Regions from separate parts of the Homo sapiens genome. Here all the other regions are linked to region 5. Evidence: promoter capture Hi-C in 16 types of primary human blood cells and fetal thymus (Javierre and others, 2016). All regions are on one chromosome and are shown on one strand. Each heading gives the region's core, a stretch centred on a gene start or on the middle of the fragment in contact. The rest is flanking DNA. Distances are from core to core; before and after follow the strand shown.

Region 1 (2,763 bases), core at 216-2,715, 160 kb before region 5:
GGTTTATGGCAACTTTTACATGAGTCTAGCAAAAGGAAAGAATGTGTCACCTCTTTTCTATCACAATTGGGGGCTTAAGAATGCAGGGGTGGATGTATCAACCCCCAGAAAGTTACAAGTTTAAGCCAGGAATTCTGGCCAGGCAATCATTTTTAGTAATACCCTTGAGCTTATGGGAGTGGAAGTTTGTATTTTTTTTTTTCCAAAGTACATTACTACTAATGATAATAGTTTTCATTAGTTCTAGTCACTGGGCTTAGCGTTTTCCATATTTTACCCTCATAGCAACCTATGAAACCTGTGTAGGAATTGACATTTGATGACAAGGTCTGTTCAAATCCAGCACCCATGTGTTACTTACCACTCTTTATAATTTTTTAAAAGAGATTTCTCCTTCTGAATACCACTATTTTTTTTTGAATGGCAGAATAAGAAAAATTAAAATCTGAAAAGCTCTTAGAAAATACTGCTACAATATCTGGAACCTAGTAATGCTGCTTCATGTAGCCTCTCCAGACTCTTGCCTGTGGCTTCCCAAAGACTGGCATAAACAAGAGGAAAAGAAAAATGGACAAAATGGGGATTACTAGTGGTAATCTTGACTACTTGGTTTGAGCAGAGCCCTCTAGGATGTGTGGGAGGAGCAGGAAAGGCCAGAGGCTGGGAAGGCTGGGCCATGCACAGTTCTGCTAGAGAAGAAAAGCTGTACATTATATGAGTAGCATGAGTCTATTCTACTTTTACCTTCAGTCTCATTGGGCTAAACAAAAACTTCATGGGTTGGAGAAAAGCTTATTTATCTTTTCTCAGCATCCAGAGAGGCATGTGACTGAAATGCAGTCATGGACAGACGCGAGACTGGAACCTGAGTGTACAATTACCACTGTGGTGAGATCAGCAACATTGTATTCAGACAGGCCATTTACTTACCTGCAGCCTATGGAGTAACCAGAATAGACTCTTGCCCTTATGTGACCCACTTGTTGGAATGAGTGTGGATCTTTCCATTTATCTATCACTTCCCATATGCATTTTTGTTTTTAGTTTTTATTATATGCAAGCATATTTATTTTATGGAGGTTGAGTAGGAAACCTAAGCTAAAGGAAGCCTCAGTGATATAGTTCAAAACTTGGAATGGCTCTCCCAGTAGCTATAGTCCTCGGTACTGTATTTCCTGAAATCCATGTCTCATCCCTTCTTGTAAGTATGGAACACACCCAGTGGCTCACGCCTGTAATCCCAGCACTTTGGGAGGCTGAGGTGGGCGGATCACTTGAGGTCAGGAGTTCGAGACCAGCTTGGCCAACATGGTGAGACCCCATCTCTAATAAAAATATAAAAATTAGCCAGGCATGGTGGTGTGTGCCTGTAGTCCCAGCTACTCAGGAGGTTGAGGCAGGAGAATCTCTTGAACCCAGGTGGCAGAGGTTGCAGTGAGCCAAGATTGCGCCACTGCACTCCAGCCTGGGTAACAGGGTGAGACTCCGTCTCAAAAAAAAAAAAAGTATGGAACACACCAACACTTGTGATTTCCTCTAGGGAATGGAATTCAGAATGGGAGTCACCTTTGGATTTTTTGAAATATAGTTCTGTATTGGTGAGACTGCTTTAACAACTTGTATTTCTTCTGTGGTTGTGCTTTGGATGAATATAGCCCATCCAAGGTGACTTCTTTACAAACACTGAACAACTTTGGGTGGTAGGGAAGTGGGAACTGCATTACTCTCTGATATAATAACTAACCACACCATTTTCATTTTGCTTTGCCAGGGTGAGTTCTGCATCCTGGTACTTCCTCAATGTATTTGGGCTTCGGAGCATTTACTCTCTGATTCTGGGCCAAGATAATGGTAAGAAGCATGTCAGGTTTACTAAGCAAATACTTCCATAGATGAATCATCCATATTAGAGCCAGAAAAGTCTTGTAGGTTGTGCTGTTTGTTACCATAGTCAAATAAAATGTTTCCTTCCTTAAGTTTCTGAGGTATTCTGAAAGAGTCTTAAAAATTCCGGGGGTCAAACTGAAGATCTCAATTCTCTCTGGCAATGACTGGGACAGTATTTTGATTCCCCAGAGTCTGATACCATCATGTGAGGGATCCAGCACCAGCAGTGTAAGCCTGTGAACCTAAAGCTTAAAGAAGGCTTGGTTTGTCAGTTCATTGACTAGAGCCCTTGCCAGTACTAATCCTTGCTCTCTTGTTTACTGGCTGGGACCTCAGAAAAGTTACTTAACAAGTTACTTAACTTCGAATTCTCTATTTACTTATCTGTAAATAAGGACTTTATTAGTTAACCTGTGGGGTTGTTAGGAACAGATGAGGAAAAATATGCAAAGCACTTAGTGAAGTACTTGGCATGCAGTAGTTGCTCAATAACTGGTGGCTGTTATTGTTGAAATTTGAAATAAAGTTTAGAGCTTCCTTTAGTGATCTCTCTTTTGCTGTTACTGTCCCCATTTTTCAGGAGACACAAAGTGACTTTCCTAGAGTCACATAGCCAGTGGGTGACAGGGCCAGCCAGTGAGGCTGTAGTCCAGTTCTCTAATCTGTGTGAAGCCCATTCTTCCCCTTGGGTGCTGGGGTGCTTGCTGAGTCCTGGCACTCATGTAAGTGTGTCTTATGCTACAGCCGCTGACCAATCACGAATGATGCAGGAGCAGATGACGGGAGCAGCCATGGCCATGCCCGCAGACACAAACAAAGCTTTCAAGGTATACTCCTTCACCTTTCAAAGCTGCAGCAATGCTCTGAAAGGTGTTA
Region 2 (2,700 bases), core at 45-2,544, 180 kb before region 5:
CTTTGAACATCTTCACATTTATTAAAAGATTCAATCACTTGCCAACTCCAGTATGTATTTTCACTATTACTAGAAAAATTACTTTGTGAAAAGTTGGAAAGACTATAAATGCCCATCAATCTGGAAAGGGTTCAGTAAATTATGATGGAGTAATTTTAATTTTTGAAATATTATAGTCATCAAAAAGGATAAGCCAGGCTGGGCGTGGGGGCTCACACCTGTAATCCCAGTACTTTGGGAGGCTGAGGTACACATATCACCTGAGGTTAGGAGTTCGAGACCAGCCTGGCCAACACGGTGAAACCCCATTTCTACTAAAAAATACAAAAAAAAATTGGCCAGTCGTGGTGGCAACTGCCTGCAATCCCAGCTACTCAGGAGGCTGAGGCAGGTCAACGACTCGAACCCGGGAGGTGCAGGTTGCAATGAGCCGAGATTGTGCCACTGCACTCCAGCCTGGGTGACACAGCGAGACTCTGTCTAAAAAAGACTTTTTAATTACAAAATTTAAAAAAAAAAGAAAAAGGTAGATCAGGGGTCCCCAACTCCTGGATCACGGAGTCTGTGGTCTGCTAGGAACCAAGCTGCACAGCAGGAGGTGAGGGGTGGTCAAGTGGTCATTACCACTGAGATCCGCCTCCTGTCAGATTAGCGGCTGCATTAGATTCTCACGGGAGCGCAAACCCCATTGTGAACTGCACATGCGCAGGATCTAGGCTGCACATTCCTTATGAGAATCTAAGTAGTGCCTGATGATCTAAAGTTGAACAGTTTCATCCTGAAATCATGCCCCGAAACGGTCTGTGGAAAAACTGTCTTCCATGAAACCAGTCCCTGGTGCCAAAAAGGTTAGGGACTGCTGAGCCATACTCTATTTTTTGACAGAGGAAAGACATTCCTGATATGAAGTGGAAAAAACAGCAGCCTGCAAAAGGATAATCAGGCTGGGCATGAAGGCTCATGCCTATAATCCCACTGCTTTGGGAGGCTGAGGAGGGAGGATCATTGAGCCCAGGAGGTGGAGGCAACAGTGAGCTACGATTGTGCCACTGCACTCCAGCCTGGCGACAGAGTGAGACCCTGTCTCTTTAAACACCACCACCACCACCCATAATCATAGTTAAGATTCTGCTTTTGTAAAAACAATATATAAACATATATATGTGTAGGCATAAGAGTATACCTGTACTTGCACACAATTACAGCTTGTATATGAAGAGAAAAAATTTGGAAGGATGATTACCCCTGAGGAATGGGAAAGAGAGCAGAGAAAAACTGTATTTTTTACATCTGTAGATTCCTTGTGGATTTTTCTCCACAATTAGCTTGTTTACCTAAGTTTAAAAAAGAAAAATATGAGGGCTGGGTGCAGTGGCTCATGCCTATAATCCCAGCACTTTGGGAGGCCCAAGCAGGAGGATCACTTGAAGCTAAAAATTTGAGACCAGCCTGGGAAACACAGCAAGACCTCATCTCTATAAAAAATAAAAGAATGGCCGGGCGCGGTGGCTCACACCTGTAATCCCAGCACTTTGGGAGGCCAAGGCGGGCAGATCACGAGGTCAGGAGATCGAGACCATCCTGGCTAACATGGTGAAACCCCGTCTCTACTAAAAATACAAAAAATTAGCCAGGCGAGGTGGTGGGCGCCTATAGTCCCAACTACTCAGGAGGCCGAGGCAGGAGAATGGCGTGAACCCGGGAGGCGGAGCTTGCAGTGAGCCGAGATCGTGCCACTGCACTACAGCCTGGGCGACAGCGAGACTCCGTCTCAAAAAATAAATAAATAAATAAATAAATAAAAGAATTGGCCAGGCGTGGTGGCTCACACCTGTAATCCTAGCACTTTGGGAGGCTGAGGCAGGTGGGTGGATCACCTGAGTCAGGAGTTTGAGACTAGCCTGGCCAATATGGTGAAATCCCATCTCTGCTAAAAATACAAAAATTAGCCAGGCATGGTGGCAGGCACCTATAATCCCAGCTACTAGGGAGGCTGAGGCAGGAGATTTGCTTCAACCCAGGGGCCAGAGGTTGCAGTGAACCGAGATTGTGGCACTTCACTATAGCCTAGGCAAAAGAGCGAAACTCTCTCAAAATAACTAACTAACTAACTAACAGAATTAGCCAGGCCTGGTGGTGCTTGCCTGTAGTCCCAGCTACTCCAAAGACTGAGGTGGGGGGATCGCTTGAACCCGGGTGTTTGAGACTGCAATGAACTATGATGCTGTCACCGCACTCCACCTTCGGTGACAGAGCAAGACTTAGTCTCTTAAAAAAAAAAAAAAAAAAAAAAAAAGAGAAAGGCCCGGCACGGTGGCTCACACCTGTAATCCCAGGACTTTGGGAGGCTGAGGTGGATCATAAGGTCAGGAGATCCAGACCATCCTGGCTAACAACGTGAAACCCCATCTCTACTAAAAATACAAAAAATTAGCCGGGCGTGGTGGCAGGCGCCTGTAGTCCCAGCTACTCGGGAGGCTGAGGTAGAAGAATGGCATGAACCCAGGAGGTGGAGCTTGCAGTGAGCTGAGATTGCGCCACTGCCTGCACTCCAGCCTGGGTGACAGAGCAAGACTCTGTCTCAAAAAAAAAAGAGAAAACACTGGGAGTGTATTCAGGGCAATCTGAGTCTATGCTTCCAGGAAAAAAAAAAAAAAAAAGTTAAAAAGGCAAGCAGGACAAAAAAGAAAAAACAAATTT
Region 3 (2,700 bases), core at 172-2,671, 220 kb before region 5:
CTTTGGGAGGCCGAGGCAGGTGGATCACAAGGTCAGGAGATCAAGACCATCCTGGCTAACACGGTGAAACTCCGTCTCTACTAAAAATACAAAAAATTAGTCAGGCATGGTGGCGGGCGCCTGTAGTCCCAGCTACTTGGGAAGCTGAGGCAGAATGGTGTGAACCTGGGAGGTGGAGCTTGCAGTGAGCAGAGATCGCGCCACTGCACTCCAGCCTGGGCGACAGAGCAAGACTCCGTCTCAAAAAAAAAAAAAAAAAAAAGACTTAGCTTTGATAGCAGATAGCCACTAAGTGTTCTAAAAAAGACCTGCCATAACCTTAGCAAGATAGAATAATCTGCTCCCCCAAAACAGAATCTTATATGGCTTTATAAATTTTCTTCTGAAATTATTCTGACACTGATACAGCTGCTTTCTGGATATTTATTTTTTCATAAGAAAACACAAAATAAATAATATATAATATTTTTTCTAATAAAAGGATGAGAAATGCTTTACTTAAGACATAGTAATGAGGACCAAAGACTGTACCATTTTCTTTTTCCATTTTTGTTTTTTGGAAATGGAGTCTCACTCTTGTCGCCCAGGCTGGAGTGCAGTGGTGCGATCTTGACTCACTGCAACTTTCACCTCCCGGGTTCAAGCAATTCTCCTGACTCAGGCGCCCAAGCAGCTGGGACTACAGGCACATGCCACCATGCCCGGCTAATTTTTTATATTTTAGTAGAGACGTGTTGCCCAGGCCGGTCGCAAATTCCTGAGCTCAGGCAATCCGCCTGCCTCGAGCCTCCCAAAGTGCTGGGATGATAAACGTGAGCCACCGCGCCCGGCCTGACTGTACCATTTTCTAAAAAGCAATTTCAACTTTGTCTCAAGATGGATGGCCCTCTGATTTCTAATCTTCATTGCCTCTCTATTTAGAAAACCCATGATTCAGTCCTGAACTATTTCATTAAACCCAGAGAATAAAATTAGATTAAAATATTACCTAGTTGATTCTGACTCTCTCCCGTTTTAAGAATAATTCCTGATATCTTAAGAAGCTTTACAAAGATGCTGTCATTTTCTTCAACTTCATTAGCAATATGAGATTTCTTTGTCTTTTTGGAAAGTGGTTGCTTCCTGGTTTCTGAAAATAGAAAAATTTTCAAGAATATGGCAAATAGTAAAGGAAAAATTAAAACTTAAACCCAGGAATAATAATCATGAGAGGAAAACTGATGTGTCCTTAAAAATTATACTAGGATTGATGCTGTAGTGAAATAAACTGTCTTCAGCAATAGTGGCTTCCAAAACAAACAAATAGAATTATTTTCACCTATTTTCATTTGAAGAATTCAAAATGTGCCATTTCTGGCCAGGCAAGGTGGCTCATGTGGTAATCCCAGCAAATTAGGAGGCCAAGGCAGGAGGATCACTTGAAGCCAGGAGTTCAAGACCAGCCTGGGCAACAAAGTGAGACCACCCCCCCATCTCCCCCCCTTCACCCCCATTCCCCCCCTCCACACACAAACTAGTTAGGTGAGGAGACGCACACCTGTAGTCCCAGCTACTTCGGAGGCTAAGGCGGAAGAATAACTTGAGCCCAGGAGGTTGAGGCTATAGTGAGCTATGATATTACCACTGCACTCCAGCCTGGGTGACAGAGTGAAATCCCCATCTCTAAAAAAATAAATTCAAACAAATAAGTGCCTAACAAGAATAACCCACAGAAATGTTTTCCACCCAAATACTAAACTAGCCAGTGTCTCTCAAGCTGTTGCCTGCAAACCACTGTACTGGAATCCCTGGGAAGCTTATTAAAATGCATATTTCCGACCCAGCACAGTGGCTCACGCCTGTAATCCCAGCACTTTGGGAGGCCGAGGCAGGCTGATTACCTGAGGTCAGGAGTTCAAGACCAGCCTGGCTAACGTGGTGAAACCCCATCTCTACTAAAAATACAAAATTAACTGGGTGTGGTGGCGTGCGCCTGTAATACCAACTACTCGGGAGGCTGAGGAGGAGAATCACTTGAACCCGGGAGGCAGAGGTTGCAGTGAGCCCAGATCGCGCCACTTCACTCCTGCCTGAGCAACAGAGTGACACTCTGTCTCAAAGGAAAAAAAAGGCATATTCCATGCCATATACCAGAGTTACTGAGTCAAAATCTTGGGAATGGGACCTAGGAATCCGAATTTTTTATGTTCTTCAGATAATAATCCTGATACACACCAAATTTGAGACTCAATGATCTGAATAAAGGGTAGACAGAATGGGGAAGGTTCTTTGTATCATATCTTTGACTACAATGCTCAGATAGGTTTAATCCCAAGACTTTCAACCCATAAAAAGAAATAAGAAACAAGAAACAAACAGGTACTTGAAGCCAAGTTTAAAATTTACTCTTCTCCCTTAATGATGCCATTTTGTTTTTTCCTTCTTCAATTCCTCTCCCTCTTTCTTTTTTTTTTTTTTTTGAAATGGAGTCTTGCTCTGTCGCCCAGGCTGGAGTGCAGTGGCGCGATCTTGGCTCACTGCAAGCTCCGCCTCCCGGGTTCATGCCATTCTCCTGCCTCAGCCTCCCAGTAGCTGGGACTACAGGTGCACACCACCACGCCCGGCTAATTTTTTGTATTTTTAGTAGAGACGGGGTTTCACCATGTTAGCCAAGATGGTCTCAATCTCCTGACCTCGTGATCTGCCCGCCTTGGCCACCCA
Region 4 (2,700 bases), core at 144-2,643, 130 kb after region 5:
CAAAGTCCACATTCTTAATCACTGTAGGTACTCTTCCTATAACACCAGAGTAAGAAGCAGAAGTCTGAGGGAACTGCTCAAAGTGATGACCGAGGAGATATGCTAAAAAACAAACAAACAAACAAACAAACAAGGCTCGTGCCTGACTCTCTCATCCTACGTGCTTCATGAAAAAGTCTCTGGGAGCTGAGCTAAATGCCATGCCTCTGCTTATGTTTCTATGCCTAGAGTACTCTTTCTGCTGGTTGGTAAACTCCTACTCATCCTTCAAAGGCCCAGACCAATTATCTTCTCTTTGGGGTTTCTGTGACCACTGGTAAAAACTGTAATGTAGGTGATGGTTACGTTGTTGCCTCTTTTCCTAGTCTAATCCCCATGAGGGCAGAGGCTGTTTTGGCATCTCTAAGGCTTAGTGTTCAGGGACTAGGAGGTCATTGCAGAATGTTCCTTGCTGCTTCTTCATAGCTGGGGCAATGCTGAGTGCCTGAGGGACAGCAGCCCCAGGGAGGGGTCTTAGGACACAGAAAGAAGGGGCATACCTCTACGGAATTCAATTCGGTTACATGGAGGGCAGCAAGACACATGTGTCCTGCCACAACTGCTCCTATCATTCATTCATTCACTCATTCATTCATTCAGTAAGCCTCACACTGCATGCCTCCTGAAGGGCCTGGCACCAGGCACACAAGGGTGAATATGACCTCAACAATCATGGAGTCACGGGAGAGGGAAGACAAAGTTAACCACTGCAGGTGTGCAACTAAAAGGGGACCTCTAGGATGCTGTGTAACCATATGACTGGAGAGCCAAGCCTGATCTGTAGGGACATCAGAGAAGGCTTCTCAGAGGTGATGACATGAGACAGCATAAGCAACAGAGAAAGGAGACACGTGTTTCTGGCAGAGAAAACAGCACGTGCGAACCTGGAGAGGGCTGCCTTCTTTTGTTTGTTTGTTTGTTTGTTTTTTTGAGACGGAGTCTCGCTCTGTCGCCCAGGCTGGAGTGTAGTGGCGCGATCTCAGCTCACCGCAAGCTCCGCCTCCCGGGTTCACGCCATTCTCCTGCCTCAGTCTCCCGAGTAGCTGGCACTACAGGCGCCCGCCACCACGCCCGGCTAATTTTTTAGTAGAGATTGGGTTTCACTGTGTTAGCCACGATGGTCTCGATCTCCTGCCCTCGTGATCTGCCCGCCTTGGCCTCCTAAAGTGCTGGGATTACAGGCATGAGCCACCGTGCCCGGCCATGGGCTGCAGGAAGATCAGCTGGTCACAAGAACAGGCAAGACCAGACTGCATGGAGCTGGGTAGGCCATGTACAAGTTCTTGCATTGTATTCTGAGGAAAATGGGAAGTCAGTGGTAGGTTTTAAGGCAGGGGTGACAGTGATGGCCCTGCTCTATCATTTCAGTGCTTGCTATCTGAGCACTTCATTTCTAGTTACTCCTCAGTGAGGCCCCAGGTTCAGCTGTGAGATGCACTGAGACAGTGGTGGCCTGAGCTAGGCACTGCACAGGAGACGAGGGCAAGAAGGATTGCAGTTGCACTAGGGGCAGAGACTAGAGAACCGATGGGAGCTGGTGATGGATGTGGTGGGAGCAAAGAACTCGAGTTTCAGGTGTGAGCATCTGGGTAAATGGTGGGCCATGGCCAACTCTACTCTGGACAGCTTGAGTCTGAGGGGCCGCCTGAAGGGACATGTGTGAAAGGTGATGCAGGTATGGATCAGAGAGGCCTGGCTGTGGGCTCATGGTGTGGACGATGGATGAGATCACCTGGGGAGATGGTGAAAAGGAACAGGGTACCGGCACCCCAGGGCTTTGCGGGCAGAAAAGGCAGAGCCCACACCCAGCCAAGGAAGAGCATGCTAGGAGCCCCAGTGAGACAAAACAGGTTGAGCAACACTGAAGAGGTGGCCTCTTGGGAGGCGCCTGCCTGCCTGCTACACTCCAGCCCTGCTGCCTTCACGCCTGGAAGTTTCAGTGTTCACTTCCCTGAATTAGCTAGCTAGCAGCCTCTTCATAATTATCATTACAATCTGTCTGGTATTTCAGTTCAGGAGTCCCTTTCAAGCAGTGATCATATTTGAGCCTGGCACAACTCTGAAATAGGTACTGCCAACACCATTTTCAGGGGGAAGTGAGGTCATCTGTTCAAGGCCACAGAGCCTTGCAGGAAGGGCCAGGCAAGCTGGGACCTAGATCTAGGGCCTGCATCTACTAAGCAGAGTACCTCCTCACACGCACAGGACCCCTTCCTAAAGAGGCAAACATCCTTGGGACCAGTGCCTGGAACTGTCACATCTCATTTGCTGAGTAGTTCATCAGATCCAGTTTGTACCTGCATAAGGAGAAAAAATGGTGCCGGAAGGGACCAGAAAGAGGGTGGCTTGGGGCAGAGTCTACTTGACCTCTGCATGCAGCACATAAAGAAGGAAGCCTGCCGGTTCTTTTATCTACTCAGTCTGTCTAGGCACAGCCTGGGACATGAGACCACAGCACAGGTACCCCAAACCTGTTCCTTCTCCAGGCTTCCAGACCATAACAAACAACTGGTCTGCTTTCCTCCCCAGTGCTCCCTCTCTTGCAAACACCTGCATTGGGGAACTCTGACATCACCCTACTTCATACACTCAAACAGTTGCTGTGAGCATAAACCTTGTGATTAGGGTCTGGATATATATAGAGAAAACAAGATGGACCTT
Region 5 (2,700 bases), core at 58-2,557:
GCTAGGAGGCTGTCATAGTTTGCCTAGGAGAGAAATCACAATTACTAAAATGAAGGTGGTTACAACACAGACGGGAGAAGGTGCTAGAGTTGAGAATCGTTTTGGAGGTGGAGATGACAAGTGGTTTTGCTGATGGAATTAGACCTGTGGGTGAAGAAACAGAAAGATGAGATTTCTGGCGTGAGGAACTGAGAGATGGGAAAGACTGGAGACTGGGGAGGACGACAGGTTTGGGCAGGAAGATCAAAGTCTGGTTTGGGACATGAATTTGAAATGCTTGTTAAGTTTTCTGGGTGTAGATGACAGGTAGGGGCTAGATCTACGGGATGTGGAGTTCGAGGCTGGGCTGGAAGGGGCACGGAGAGGGTGCAGCACACTGACTGGACTCAGCCAAGGACACAGCCAAAGGAGACAGACCTGGGGAAGGGGCCAGGGGGCCACTAATGGCTGAGGAACCTTTAAAGGCCGCTGAAAAGCAGCAGCCAAAGAGGGAGAAAGGAAAACTAGGAGCGTGCAGTCAGACAGCCAAGAGGAAGGGTGTGTGGGGCAGCGGTGTCGAAAGATACAGGGTGCCCAACCGAGATCAAGACCGAAAGGCACTGCTGGGTTTGGCTCCCTGGAACTCACCAGGCACCTTGATTAGAGTGGGACATCGCAGGGAACCAGAGTGGAGGGAGCCCAGAAGTTTGGTGCTGAAGGGGTAAACGGGGAGGTAGTTGAAGATGGGTGTGGTGGTTGAGGATTTTTGCTATTGTTTTTTCTTTTGCTTTTGTTTTTTAAGGATATAAGAAAACAGCGCAGGGAGACAGGCTGAGCCGCTCCCAGGGCCCTTTCTAAGCGCCCCTGCCCCTCCTCTGACCTTGACAGCTCTCTCCACGTAGATTTTGGCGTTTCTGAGCCGGTTCATGTGAGACGCCTTGGAGGATCCTCGCCAGAGGACCGGGAAACCTGCAGAAAGATGCGGAATAGGGGCGGGGTACACTGAGGCTGGGCCTAGGGTCTCGGCCTAGGATCTTTTCTGGCCGCCCATAGCCACGCCTCTTTTCTTCCTCCTGCCTTCATCCAGATGCCCACCCTCAGCCGCTCTTCTCCCGACCCCCAGTCCCTCCACCCCAGCGTCTTGTCGTCCTCGCAGCCGCTGTAGGCCAGAGCGAGCGGGCCGCACGGGCCTCACCATCCTGCGGAGAGGGGTCGAGGACCGGGGTGTGCGGGGGGCCGAGGGGGTGGGTATCCGAGGCGCCCTGGGCGTGGGTGCCTGGGACCAGCGTCTTGAAGGCGCCGCTGAGGCGGCGCGCAGGGGCGGGGCTGCCCGCCTGGCATCTGCCGCCTGCGTGACCCTCCTCGGACTGGGCGGAGGCAGGGCCGGCCCATGGCAGCCTCCTGGGTGGACGGAACTCGGAGCGGCGCGCCGAGGGGAAACTGGTGCGTGGCTCGAGCGGCTGCGGCTTCCGCAGCCAGTTGCACACCGCGCCGCCCTCCTGGCGGTACCAGGAGGCCGAGCCCCGGCGCCCGGGCCCCAGCTCCCTCGCGCTCAGGAGCAGTGGCGCGTCGGGGCCCTGCATGCGCCCCTCGCCGCGCTCGCCCTCCCAGGGCCCCTGATCCCGCGCCCCTCCGCGTCGCCGCCTCCTCTCCCGGGAAGTTCCTGCCTAGGCTCGAGCCTTGTCCTCCGTTCCAAGCCCCGCCCCGTTTGCTATTGCCTTGGAAACCATTCCCTGGGCACCATCAGACCGCTCGGGGCTGGTTGGGGGCTGCGATGGGCCCCGGGGCAGTCGAGCGAGGGCTTCCTTATGACCTGGGGCCTCACCCAGACCCTTGATGAGCAGGGCACTGAAGGCGGAAGAGAGCACTGAGCCCCAGTTAGTTAGTGTTGCGGTTCCTTATCCAGTACTTCCTGGTGCCACCGGCCCTAGGGTTTGAGTGATTCCACAGTATTTATAGGCGCTAACAAATGGCCCCTGACCTCATGGAGCTTACTAAAAGCCCAGTGTGAGGGGAATAAAAAGCAAGTAACAAAGGAAGAGAATAGTTTACAGGTATAATAAGGGCAATGAACAAGCAGAGGTGAAACCAGGAAGGGGGCGCATTTTAGATAAAGTGGCGCATTTAAGCTGAAGGTGTAAATGCCAGGAGTCAGGAGTCACCAGGGAAAGGGGAGGAACTGCACTTCAGGGAAGGGACAGTCCCAGCAACAGCCCTGAGAAGGGTAAGAACCTCTGTGCGAACTACAAGACAGCCAGGGTGGCTGGAGCCTGGTGAGGCCAGATCAGACCTGCTGGGCCTGGCAGATGGGCCTAGGGTAAGGTCCTTAGCGAGGGCAGCATATGGGGGTAACAAGAAGGTGCAGAGCACACCCTCCCCAGAAACTGGAAATGGAAAAACAATCATTTGAGTCAACTGCGAAAGAAATGTAATAGTTCACAACAGTTATGCCTGGCCCCCAGGCTAAGACTGTAAGCAACCTTTTTGGAAGCACTGGCAAAATATTATCCTCAAAAGTCACAGGGGAGGTAAGGCTCCAAGATGTTAAACAATTTGCCTCAAATCACAGAGCAGAGGCAGCACTGGAACCCAGGTCTGACTCCAAAGCCTGTCTCTTAAACACCTGTTATCACTCAGGTTGCCTGCCAGTCACAGAAGGACCACACAGGGACAGTTTGAGAGGCAAACTCTAGCAGTGCCCCCGCAGGCAGAGTCGAAGAG

The links. Contacts are between HindIII fragments. The CHiCAGO score rates a contact against its expected background, and 5 or more counts as called.
Region 1: a fragment that was not itself captured here is called in contact with the fragment with the promoter of TTLL3 in region 5 in 12 of 17 cell types (monocytes, megakaryocytes, erythroblasts and 9 more); the score reaches 10.5 in monocytes.
Region 2: a contact is called between a fragment that was not itself captured here and the fragment with the promoter of TTLL3 in region 5, in 4 of 17 cell types (erythroblasts, activated CD4 T cells, neutrophils and 1 more). The highest score is 6.2, in erythroblasts.
Region 3: a contact is called between a fragment that was not itself captured here and the fragment with the promoter of TTLL3 in region 5, in 13 of 17 cell types (erythroblasts, monocytes, megakaryocytes and 10 more). The highest score is 11.9, in erythroblasts.
Region 4: a contact is called between a fragment that was not itself captured here and the fragment with the promoter of TTLL3 in region 5, in 1 of 17 cell types (neutrophils). The highest score is 5.4, in neutrophils.

The regions. Positions count from the first base shown.
Region 1 is chr3:9,969,670-9,972,432 of GRCh38, reverse strand. It overlaps EMC3 (ER membrane protein complex subunit 3), which reads left to right. Exons shown (of 8, transcript NM_001394674.1): 6 at 1,772-1,851; 7 at 2,632-2,714. Among named protein-coding and RNA genes, the nearest start is that of EMC3, 16 kb to the left of the region's middle. The HindIII fragment of the contact is 1,344 bases long and covers 794-2,137 here.
Region 2 is chr3:9,989,922-9,992,621 of GRCh38, reverse strand. The region is part of intron 2 of EMC3-AS1 (EMC3 antisense RNA 1); the gene reads right to left. It also overlaps a transcript of EMC3 not described here. Among named protein-coding and RNA genes, the nearest start is that of EMC3-AS1, 4.4 kb to the right of the region's middle. The HindIII fragment of the contact is 3,447 bases long and covers 1-2,700 here.
Region 3 is chr3:10,031,261-10,033,960 of GRCh38, reverse strand. FANCD2 (FA complementation group D2) reads right to left here. Exons shown (of 44, transcript NM_001018115.3): 3 at 989-1,129. Among named protein-coding and RNA genes, the nearest start is that of FANCD2, 6.2 kb to the right of the region's middle. The HindIII fragment of the contact is 752 bases long and covers 1,046-1,797 here.
Region 4 is chr3:9,679,106-9,681,805 of GRCh38, reverse strand. All of the region lies in intron 9 of MTMR14 (myotubularin related protein 14), which reads right to left. Among named protein-coding and RNA genes, the nearest start is that of CPNE9, 23 kb to the left of the region's middle. The HindIII fragment of the contact is 4,297 bases long and covers 1-2,700 here.
Region 5 is chr3:9,808,869-9,811,568 of GRCh38, reverse strand. TTLL3 (tubulin tyrosine ligase like 3) reads right to left here and starts at 1,307. Exons shown (of 14, transcript NM_001387446.1): 1 at 1,175-1,307; 2 at 860-948. The coding sequence starts at 907. All of the region lies in intron 4 of ARPC4-TTLL3 (ARPC4-TTLL3 readthrough), which reads right to left. RefSeq lists a silencer at 1,126-1,605 and an enhancer at 2,086-2,235. The HindIII fragment of the contact is 3,571 bases long and covers 1-2,700 here.